Regions from separate parts of the Homo sapiens genome. Here all the other regions are linked to region 4. The links are contacts of gene promoters, found by promoter capture Hi-C in human tissues and cell types (Jung and others, 2019). All regions are on one chromosome and are shown on one strand. The core of a region is centred on a gene start or on the middle of the fragment in contact, and the rest is flanking DNA. Distances in the headings are between cores, read along the strand shown.

Region 1 (2,700 bases), core at 83-2,582, 890 kb after region 4:
GACATTTTATTGCAGGGGAGGTCTGGGTTTCAAATTTTAAGATGCCTAAAAGTACCAGATAATGTAAATGAATGTGATGGGAGACATTTGCAAAAGGCAGTGCCTTAAGCTGTCTTTTCAAAACTCACTTTCTATTTTGCAGGCACAGGAATAGGGTTCATAAGAAACGTGCTTGCTTTTAGTTTCCTCAAATCTGTGGTTCTCTTGGTCTGTGATTTCCTGCTTTTGATAGAGCCATTAATACAAGAAGTATTCACTGTTGTTGTTTACTATATGTAAAAAGAAGCACTGGCTGAAGATAAAAGGCAATGAAAACTGCATCAGACTCAGGACAGACAGCAGGGAAGGGGCCATGAGGTGCCTGAGAGGGACAGCTGCTCCTCAGCTCCAGCAAGTGGTGGTTATGCAGGAATATGGGTCTCCCAGTTCAAGGGAAGCTGGCAATCTAGATTTGTGTGTGAAATTTCCTGGAGTGATTTGTTCCAAAGTTTAACAAAATATTCTGTGGACCACCACTTTGCAACCTGTGTTTTACTGATTTAGGGACACGTTTGAAAATGTCTTAAGAATCCTTAATCATCCTGTGTTTCAAATTTAGTTGGCAGATAAATCTTAGATTTCTTTCCATGCCCCTTCCCTCATCAGCTAGAAGGGTAAGAGGGAGGCAGAGTCTTCAGGAATCCAGCTGTGCAGATTCACACCACATCACCTCCAGCGTCATTAGCTCTTTCTGCAGACCTTTTTAAGAATCTGATTTGCATGATGAACCCTCCATCCTGAGAAAAAAATACGTATGTCCAAGCGTGCTTGCACAGTTTTGCATGGAGTTCAGACAACTTTCAAATTTTAGGTTAGAAATCCCTCCCCAGGGCGACTGCTGGGACTAAAGTCATCTGCATTTAGAAGGCAGTGAATCCCATCCGTGCCTGCAGCGGACTTCGGTCCTTGAGGGCTTCAGCTGTGTTTCCCTGTGCCTCTGGCTGCACTGAAGATTGGCCTTCTCTTCATGCATTCTGTATTTTGTGAAAATATTTTTACAATTAGGAGCATTTAAAGAGTTTTTAAAAGCTTTTATTTAAGTTCCATTTTTTCCTACTTATCATATAAACAAAACATTGATATTTGCAAATAAAAGTAATAATTAAGAAACTTTTGCAGCTGTCTTATGAAAATCCTTGGAAACAGATTTCCATGGTTTTAAAAAGTCGCACCTATCCATTTTTCCACTTTTAAACAATTCTTCCATTAAACTTTTTTATATAGAGTAATCCATTTCCCCTTTTATTATTGTTGATACTAAATTATCAATTATTTTCTCTAATTTAGTAGAAGAATATCTTTCCTCCTGACTCCTAAGTCAAATATTTTAGAATCTACTACAGCTAATAACGTCATTGTTCTGAATATAACTGAGGCTCGAGGTGATGGTGAGGAAGAGGAGGGTGCTAGCCCCCTTATCTTCTCTGTTTCTTCTCACTTCTCTTCCAGTGCTGGACATCAGCATGCTCTCCTCCCAGGATGTGGTTCGTATGCTGTTGTCCCTGCAGCCCTTTCTCCAAGATGCCATCCAAAAGAAGCGCACGGGCAGGACCTGGGAGAACATCCAGCATGTGCAGGGACCACTCACTTGGCAGCAGTTCCATAAAATGGCAGGACGGGGAACCTACGGTAGGGTCTTTGTCCTGTTTAAAATTCCTTCTGACTTCAGTGCTGTTCAGTGAAGAGCAGCGTTAGTTACTGTCAAGTCCTTGCGTCACTAACAAAATAGGGGAGTCTTTTTCTTTGACCATTTAGTTTTATAATCTCTTTGTTTTCCTAAAGTTACTTTTGGAGTCAAGTTTCCTACCACCCTTGGCATAATCCAGGTCAGTGAGGAAGCTAATCCCTAAAAAGTGCATTTTTTAGATTCTCCTCATTTTCCCAATCCTCACTGCATTTTCATCTGGATGGACTTCTGGGCCAGTTCTGTCTACTTCATCATAGTCAGAATCATAATGCTTATCTTGAAGGAAATGATGTAGTGCTGCTTGGAAAGTTAATTTTAACTTGTTCTAGTCTGCCCTCTGATCTTACTGAACCTTTATAAACAAATTCTGACTTACTTAATTAAGAGTCCTCATCAGTGACCATTTAATTAGATGATTTCAAAAATACTTTTAAGAATGTCTTGTGAACATGGAGTGACATTTCAGATGCCAGAATTAAGACCAGTGCACCAGGAATTTCAAAATTGTAAGGTTGTGGGAAAAACTCTCTAGCACCTTTCTACACTACAATGTCATTTTAGGTTCGGAAGAATCTCCTGAGCCGTTGCCCATCCCCACTCTGCTGGTAGGCTATGACAAGGATTTCCTCACCATCTCGCCATTCTCCTTGCCGTTTTGGGAGAGGCTCTTGTTGGACCCATATGGGGGCCACCGTGATGTTGCCTATATTGTGGTGTGTCCAGAAAATGAGGCCTTGCTCGAAGGAGCCAAAACTTTCTTCAGGGACTTGAGTGCTGTATACGAGGTGAGGAAGTTACTGTGAAAATTGCTTTTTATGACTTGGATCCTCTGATTGTTTATAGTGATGACTAAATTTCAAGACAAATGTCTTGAAAGTAAATCTCAGAGAAAATTTGCAAACAGGTGGATGAAGAAGAGAATTGAATTGGCCAATTTTTCTGGAAGCAAATTGCTTTCCCATCTTTGCTTTATA
Region 2 (2,806 bases), core at 150-2,649, 600 kb after region 4:
ATTATACACTCTCATCTCTTCCCTGCTTTCTACTCTTCCTTTTTTTTTTTTTTTTTTTTTTTGAGACAGGGCCTCTCTCTGTCACTCAGGCTGGAGTACGGTGATGCGACCTCGGCTCACTGGGCTCACTGCAGCCTCTGCCTCCAGGGCTCAAGTTATCCTCCCACCTCAGCCTTTCGAGTAGCTAGGGCTACAGGCACATGCCACACTACGCCTGGCTAATTTTTGTATTTTTGTATTTTATTTTTTTTGTCATGACGGGGGTTCTTGCTACATTGCTCAGGCTGGTCTTAAACCTCGGCTAGGATTACCGGCGTGAGCCACTGTGCCAGCCATCCACTCTTCCTCTTTTAGCTTAATCTACCTGAAACAGCTGATTGTTCCATGTTTGGAGGCGTATTAGTGAAGACATTGTTTTCTCCTCCCCCTTTTCGGGGATCCATTTCTTGAGGACTGGGAGAGCTTCTCTTCATAGCAGCACTCCTCCGGACTCCCAGGCCATATACACTCAGGAAATGTTGGTTATCCAATGAATGACGCCAGGAAGAAGGGTCTGCTCCCAACACGGCCTTAGCACAGTGCCTGGAAGTTATAACAGATTCTGGCACACAGCAGGAGCTCAGGAAACATTTATGTAATGAATGAATGAATGAATGAATGAGTGCACACAGTAACTAGGAGTAAGGGCTCAATAAACATTTCTGTATTAAACGCACAGTGTCTGGAACACAGTAAGCGCTCCGTCTATGGCAGCCGTGAATATCCCTGGGCGAAGCCTGTGAAACCTTGTCCAAGAGCTTGGCTTCACTGTGCGCGGGTTCGAATCTGGACTCCTCTTCCCAAGTGTGCGACCTCGGGCAAGTGATTTAATCCCTTTGTGCTTTAGTTTTCTCCTCTGCAAAAGGCGGACGGCGGCGCGAGCCTCTGAGGACACATTCCCCAGGGCACTCGGACCCGCTGCCTGGCCCACATCGCGGCCGCCGCGCCACGCCAGCCGGCCTGGGCTGCGAGGGCACAGGCCGGGGGTCCCGCGCCCTCCTCCGCGGCCACCACGGGCGCGCCCGGGACCCACGGTCCCGCCCCGCCACGATCAGTGCACCGCGAGGGGGCGGGGCGGCCACGAGGGGCAGCCCACGGCAGCCACGGGCCGGCAGTCCGCCGCCCGCCGGGGAGCCCGGCCGCCCGCACTTCTTTCTCTCCCTCTCTGCCTCCCTCCCTCCCTCTTCCCGGCCGGAGGACCCGGCCGCGCTCAGCTCAGCAGCGCCTCCCGCGAGCCGCCGCCGCCGCCGCCACTCCGGACCCCTCCCCCGCCCGCCCCTCGCTCCCCCCGCGCGGCCGGCGCCCGTCACGTGACCAAGCGCCAGCCAATGGCGGGCCGAGCCGCGGTCGGCGGCCGCCATTGCTGTCAGAGCAAGCGAGCCCGGGGAGGGAGGAGAAGCGAGGCTGACTGGGGAGGAGGGGGGGGTGGGGGAGGAAGAGGAAGGAGGGGACGTCGCTCGGCTGCCGGGGTCGCCCGCTGGCTTCGTCCGCACCCCCCCCTTCGCGAGTTCGCGCTCCGCGGCGGCGGCGGCTCCGAGGCGGCGGCGGCGGCTCCGGGGCTCGCCTCCCCTCGCGCGCCGGCGGGGGCCGAGGGGGAGTCGGTGGCTGGAGATAAACAAGGCGGCGGCAGCGGCAGCAGCGGCGGCGGCGGCGGCTGAGGAGCAGGGAAGGCGGAGGCGGTGGCCGGCCCGCAGCGCCGGCCCGGGGCGCGCGCCCCCCCCGCCAGCCCGGGCCCGCTGCCCCCGGCGCGGCGTCGCCGCGGCGCCTCCCGCCTGCCCGCCGGCCCTCGCGCCCTCCCCCGGCGGCGGCGGCGGCCCGGCCGCCCCGCGCTCCCCGGCGAGGCGCCGCCGCCCGGCCCGGCCTCGCCTCGGACGCCTCGCTCCGACATGCCCCGCTCTGGCGGCCGGGCTCGCGGAGGATCATGACTGCGGCAGCGAACTGGGTGGCGAACGGGGCGAGCCTGGAGGATTGTCACTCCAACCTCTTTTCGCTGGTGAGTAGCCGGGCTGCGGGGAGGGGGCTGTGCCGGGGAAGGGGGGGGGTCCCCGACCTCCGCCGCCGACCAACTTTCTCCTCCCGCCGCCGGGACTTCGCCCCTCCCTCGCGTCTCCCCGCCGTTCGCCTCTCGCCGATTCTCCCCCTTTTGGATCGTCTCTCTCTCGCCTTGGATCCCATCCAGTGTTTATTTGGCTCTTTAAAAATCATTTGTGAGCGCGGCGCTCGGCGTGGAATTTGCATGTGGAAGTCTCGGAGCTGCGGATTCTGGGTCGCACTTCGAACGCCCACCCTCTGTTGCAATCGCACTCCCCTTCTCCTCCCCTTTCCCCCCTTTTTTTCCCCCCGTAAATGTGGAAGGCTTTGCCTTGTGCTGCCGCGCCTCCGATCGGCAACCTCTTCCCCCGTTGTTGGATCAGCTGCCTGCCCGCCCGCCTGCCTTTTGAATTTTTTTAAATTCCATAATGACACCTGCAATTTCGCCCTAAAATAGTTGATTGAATGCGATTGTGTCAGGAAAGGACTCTTGCACCCGAAGCTCCCGCGATTGTAAACATCGACAGCCGCCTGCCTCTCGGGGCTTACTATGCTGGAGAGCCGTAAAGCCATTGCACCGAGCCGACGGAAGGTGGAGAAAGCTTTTTCTTCTTTCTCTCCTCCTGTGTCTTTTAAAAACTGTTTTTCTCTATCCTAACAACGAATCCGCACACACACACACACACACACACACACACACACACACACACACAAAAGCAACAAGCTGGTCGGTTTG
Region 3 (2,700 bases), core at 7-2,506, 760 kb after region 4:
AGGTGTAAGGCACTGTGCCTTCTTAAGATTAAGTGTTAGTTTTCTCATGTATAAAATGGAGATTAGAATCAACTGTATTCATCAGAGTTCTTAGCTTCAAACTAAGAAAAGGAGTTGATTAAAAGAATATTGGGTATCCAACTATTTGGCACTTTTACAATCGGCGCTACAGAACTGGTTCAATGAGAAAGGTACTGCTAGCTACCACCAAGCACTAGATGCTGTGGTACCTCTGCTACTTTAGCACCAAAAACTTGATCTTGAAGCCTCTGTTCCTAGAGCTGTCAGAAAGATATCTCCATCGGCTTTCTTTTTGTCCCTGGATTCAGAGTCAAAGGTGTCGACCAGGAGCATCTGGTAGGGGTTAGAATGTATGTCCTTGTCCACACTGTAGGGGAGGATGGAAAAGAGAGAATCAGTATTTTTAGTTTCCGTTAGGGGTGATTATATTTGATCCCAATTAGGACTCTTAATGATAGTGATAATGAAGAAGCCCGACACTGAGTGACAGAAGTGTGCCAGATGTCTCATAGTGTGGTGGTGAGTAGTCTCCCCACCTCCCCATTTATATGTAGTGCCTAATTCAAAGCTTGGCACATAAAATAAAACAAGAATGATTGTTTTCTGGATAGAAAACCAACCTTGATTATATGTTATTTAATTGTTAATTTAAAATTTAAGACATTTTATGCTAGTAGCTATTCTGCAAAGTTTCAAAATAATTTTTGCTTCCGAGTGGTTTGCACATACATGTGTTAGCTTTTTGAGAGCATTCCTAGTTCTTAGCCTGGTGCTTGACACATAACACGGTCAAGTAGTGTTGTCTAGTTAATGTTGATCAAATTATCTGTTATTAGATTCCAAGCATGTCTTTGCAGATTTAACTTATTTTGAAATTTTAGGGATTTATTGAAACATATGCTGCTCCTGTATTTCTGGAAACTCTGATCATGAGAAAAAAAGGATGGTCTGATTTACATTCTGTTTGACAAATGCATTTGTTAGTGATAGTAAATTGAAAGGGTCAGCAAATTAATGCATTATCCTTAATTTCATAGCCTAAATTGATAGTATTTATTAGAGTGGTTATTGGCTTATAATTTTTTATGATAAATTGATTATTCTTGAATCTTTAGTATGTAATTTTCAATGCAATATCTAAGACATAGGAAATTTAAATCCAAACACTGAATGCTTTTTAAATTATCTACTGATTTATATTTAAATTTTGTTTGTTAACTTATAATTTATAATTTTCTATTGTTTTCTAAGCTTTAGTACACTTTCCTTAGACAAGGGCTTAATATAGTATGATTTGTTTTATTTTGTATTACTACTTTCCTATTTTATATTAACTTAGTGCCCAAACTTTATGTTAATTTATGTTATATACTTACAGAATATAAAAGAACAGATGAGAATGACCATATAATTATTTTTCAAAATAATTTTTAGCATTTAAAAAATAAAAATTTTGACTGCGTGCAGTGGCTGACACCTGTAATCCCAGCACTTTGGGAGTCTGAGGCAGAAGGATCACTTGAGCTCAGGGATTCAAGAGCAGCCTGGGCAACATGGTAAGACCCCATCTCTACAAAAAAATTAAAAAGTAACTGGGCATGGTGGCCTATGCCTGTAACTCCCAGAAAGTGGGGAGACTTAGGTAGGAGGATTGCTTGAGGCTGGGAGGTCGAGGCTGCAGTGAGCTGTGATCATGTAACTGCACTCTAGCCTGGGTGAAAGAGCGAGACCCTGTCTCAAAAAATTAAAAAAATGCCTTAAGATGTTTATATTTTGTTACATTTGCATTATATACAGTGTTTGATATGAAGTGAAGAATATAACTGGTACATTGGGCTCTAGGAACAGTTACTTCAGTCTGAATTTCCTTGTTAATTACTCAAACTTTTTTTTTTTGTTTTTAATACTTTATGAATGGAGGTTAATCACATAAATACCATATCTTTTGGATTTAGAGAATGCTTTTTATATATAAATTTAGAGTAGGAGTCCTTTTGATTACAATACTAAGAAAATAAAGAGGTCAATATTAGCATATTCATGATGGCTTAAGTCTAGAAACTTGGCCCAATGGTAAAATGAGTTTTCGTAATTTAGAACAGTAAAAGATTGTGAGTAAAGTTTACCATATTTAGTAAATAATACATTATTTAGTAAATAATATTTCTGCGCGTTTGCACAAATGTATGCAGGTATGTAACTGCCACTATAATCAAGATATAGAGTGGGGGGCATCACCCCTCAAATTTCCGGTGTCCCTTTGGTATCAACCTGTCTCACCACCTCCATCCCTGGAAACCATTGAGAAGTTTACAGTACCTTAAATTTGCCTTTTGCGAGAATGACATATGAATGAATCATACAGCACATAGTCTGAGTATGGCTTCTTTTTACTTAGCATAATGAGATTCATCCATATTTTTTCTTGTATTGGAAGTTCCTTTTTATTTCTGAGTAGTAGCCCATTGTATAGATATTTCATTGTTTTTCCCACTGTTGAGAGACATTTGGATGGTTTCCAGTTTTTGGCATTTACAAATACAACTACTATATACATTTGCTGTAGTTTGTTTTGTGTTGTGAGAGTACAGTAGGAGAAAAAGAGTTCGTTTTTTCCTAGAACCTTACATCCTCCAAACTTGAGTATATACCTAGAAGGATGTAAGGTTCTAGGGAAAA
Region 4 (2,700 bases), core at 187-2,686:
CTACTCTGTGAGCTAGGGCAAGAACCCTTACCTACCTGTGCCTCAGCTTCCTCATCTTTGAAATATTATAGTAATTGCATGTAGAATTGTTGGGAGATTTACCTTTAGGCAGCAGAGGCAAGGGCGCCCAAAGCCCACAGGTGCCAGACATAGAAGATGCGCAGTAGGTCTTGGCCATTATGAAGCCTAGAATAATTGGAGCTGGGTGAGGGAAAAGGCCACCAGAATCACACAGTGTTGTGGGCTTTGAGCCCTGACTTTGTTGTCATTTCACCACGCTGTGGGCCAAAAGGGACATTTCTCCTCCTGATCAATTCAGACCAAAACTAAGTTCACAGACTCGAAGAATCTTGGTTATACTCTGCGGTGGGAAGGCAAGAACGGAAGCTCCCTCAGCAGGTTCCAGACTCCCAACTTGGAGCCATCTCTGGACTCATCCCGATGGTCTGAATCCCAAAGTTGTCTGAATCCCAGTCGATTTAAGATCACAGGTTTCATTCTCCCCCACAGAATCCTGACAGCCGCCCAGCCCATCTGAACCTTCACCGTTTGTGACAACTGCAGACGCTCCAGTCTGGAGGTGCACAGGAGTGGCTGTCGGATTGGAAAAGGGGGAATTAAAGTCCCCCGCGCCCCTCCTCTCGCCGACCCCTTAGGGTCTCCACTGCGCATTAAATCGGGGTCATCGCAGAAAACTGTAACGCCATCAGGAAAATAATGTTCACAAAGAAAGCAGACAAGAAGTTTCCCTTTAGAAAGCCCCTTGCGAGGGTCTTTTGGGTGCGGGTGCCGGGCAGCGAGAATGCCTCCGTCCGCGCCCCACGCGAGCTCAGGTGGGCCCATCCAGCCTCCCACCGGGCGCTGGGGGCACTTTAGGGTCAGGTTTCTAGCCAGGCGCTGGGGGCACGTTAGGGTCAGGCTGAAAGCCTACAGGTGCCAAGTCAGACCTGAAACGAGGCAAGTTGGGTGTAATCTGACCCTTCCATAAGATTTTGAATCCACCCACCTCCCCCAAACAAAACAACAGCCTCGGAATATTTTTGAATAATGCAGCCGAATTCAGCATCAGCTTCATCCAAAACGGCAAACAAGCCTTTTTCCCTCGCCAAATCGGAACTCGAGCTGAATTCAGGAAAAGGGGAAGGAGAACAACCTTCCCTCGCGCTCCGCGCCTCCGCGGGGGTCCCCCGAGACCCCCAAAGCCCAGGACCTCCGCTGCGGGGAGCCTTCTCGCGCCGCCCCGCGCCGCGCTCCCCGTCTCCCAAACCTCGCGCTCCCTAGCTGCCGGCGCCGCTAGGGTTAAAAGTTACCTCTCGGTTTCTTCTGCCTGCAGCCCCCCCCCCAACCCCCGGGGGCCGGATGATGTAACCCCCCTCCCCGCCCCCCTCCACCATGTGACACTTTAATTAATAATAGCGCCGTCAGCACAACAAACGCACAACACAAGGAGAAACTTGGTGTCCAGGGGAGGCCCCCGGCGGCTGGAGCGCGGCGGCAGCGGGCGCAGAGGCCGGAGGGAGAGGAGGCGAGGGGCGGCCCGAGCGCGGGGCGGGAGCGAGGCCAGCGGTCATGTGCCCGTGCCCCCTGCACCGCGGCCGCGGCCCCCCGGCCGTGTGCGCCTGCAGCGCGGGTCGCCTGGGGCTGCGCTCGTCCGCCGCGCAGCTCACCGCCGCCCGGCTCAAGGCGCTAGGCGACGAGCTGCACCAGCGCACCATGTGGCGGCGCCGCGCGCGGAGCCGGAGGGCGCCGGCGCCCGGCGCGCTCCCCACCTACTGGCCTTGGCTGTGCGCGGCCGCGCAGGTGGCGGCGCTGGCGGCCTGGCTGCTCGGCAGGCGGAACTTGTAGGAACGCGGGGCTTCTTGGTGGGGCCGGAGCCGAGACCCAGCCGGAGCGAGCAACAGGTACGCGAGCGAGCGAGCGAGAGCCGGGGCGCGGCAGCTGGGCACTGGAGACGCTGGGCTGGCCCGGGAGCGGGAGAGTGGCAAGTTTGGCTTTCTTCTTTTCCCTTCTCCTTCTTCCTCCGTTCTCTTCTCTTGCAAGCATCTCCACCTCTCCTCTTCTACCCAGTCCCCAGTCTTCCCTTCCAAGTGTAAGGTCCACCGTTTCTGCCCCCATCTCTGCGAGTCCTTAAGCGCATCTTGCTACTCACTTATAGCTCAGTGGCTTGCGGAGGACTTCAGCCTCCATAATCCCCACCAGCCCCACAAATAAACACACAATGCAAGTAAAAAGTGTGCTTGCTATGGGAATGTAGTTGTAAGCCACGCCAAATACTTAAAATCTATCGCACTTCCAAGAAAGGTCCCCGGTCCCGTTCCAATCCTCTTGCCGTTCCTGAGTCGCCCCCGTCTCCATCACCTTTGCTCCCAACCTCTTGTCCCTAAGTGTCACTTCTCCAATCTCTGATCCCCATTATCTGGCACCCCAAGCGCATCTCGAGACTTCCTCCCCCTCCAGGTTTCTGGCTGGCCCAATCTTTCTTCCCAAGCTCCGCGCATTTGCAATTTTCCTCTGCCCTGCCAACTTCGCTCCTTCTCGAGTGAGGTGTCCTGTTTAAGGAGTTTGGCTTCCTTCTCCCCAGACGGTTGTAGCTGCTACGGGAAGGAGACGCCCTCGGAGTGGGCTGGAATAGGGGGCTTTCAGGGAAACTCCAATGGGAAGCCTTAAGGAAGGAACATTTATTGAGCTCCTTCGGGGTGC

The links. The method cuts DNA at HindIII sites, captures the fragments that hold promoters and counts their contacts. A contact is called where the count stands out against the background at its distance.
Region 1: a contact is called between a fragment that was not itself captured here and the fragment with the promoter of HRK in region 4, in 2 of the 25 tissues and cell types used here (mesenchymal stem cells and mesendoderm cells).
Region 2: the fragment with the promoter of MED13L here is called in contact with the fragment with the promoter of HRK in region 4 in 1 of the 25 tissues and cell types used here (mesendoderm cells).
Region 3: a fragment that was not itself captured here is called in contact with the fragment with the promoter of HRK in region 4 in 2 of the 25 tissues and cell types used here (dorsolateral prefrontal cortex and hippocampus).

What each region holds. Positions count from the first base shown.
Region 1 is chr12:115,986,077-115,988,776 of GRCh38, reverse strand. MED13L (mediator complex subunit 13L) reads left to right here. Exons shown (of 31, transcript NM_015335.5): 18 at 1,489-1,668; 19 at 2,288-2,511. Among named protein-coding and RNA genes, the nearest start is that of LINC02463, 100 kb to the right of the region's middle. The HindIII fragment of the contact is 3,301 bases long and covers 1-2,700 here.
Region 2 is chr12:116,276,286-116,279,091 of GRCh38, reverse strand. It overlaps MED13L (mediator complex subunit 13L), which reads left to right and starts at 1,399. Exons shown (of 31, transcript NM_015335.5): 1 at 1,399-2,032. The coding sequence starts at 1,961. RefSeq lists silencers at 991-1,050, 1,101-1,570. The HindIII fragment of the contact is 5,179 bases long and covers 1-2,806 here.
Region 3 is chr12:116,116,885-116,119,584 of GRCh38, reverse strand. The region is part of intron 2 of MED13L (mediator complex subunit 13L); the gene reads left to right. Among named protein-coding and RNA genes, the nearest start is that of MIR620, 30 kb to the left of the region's middle. The HindIII fragment of the contact is 3,682 bases long and covers 1-2,700 here.
Region 4 is chr12:116,880,177-116,882,876 of GRCh38, reverse strand. It overlaps HRK (harakiri, BCL2 interacting protein), which reads left to right and starts at 1,436. Exons shown (of 2, transcript NM_003806.4): 1 at 1,436-1,901. The coding sequence starts at 1,570. The coding sequence ends at 1,845. RefSeq lists an enhancer at 282-1,243 and a silencer at 1,749-1,828. The HindIII fragment of the contact is 18,466 bases long and covers 1-2,700 here.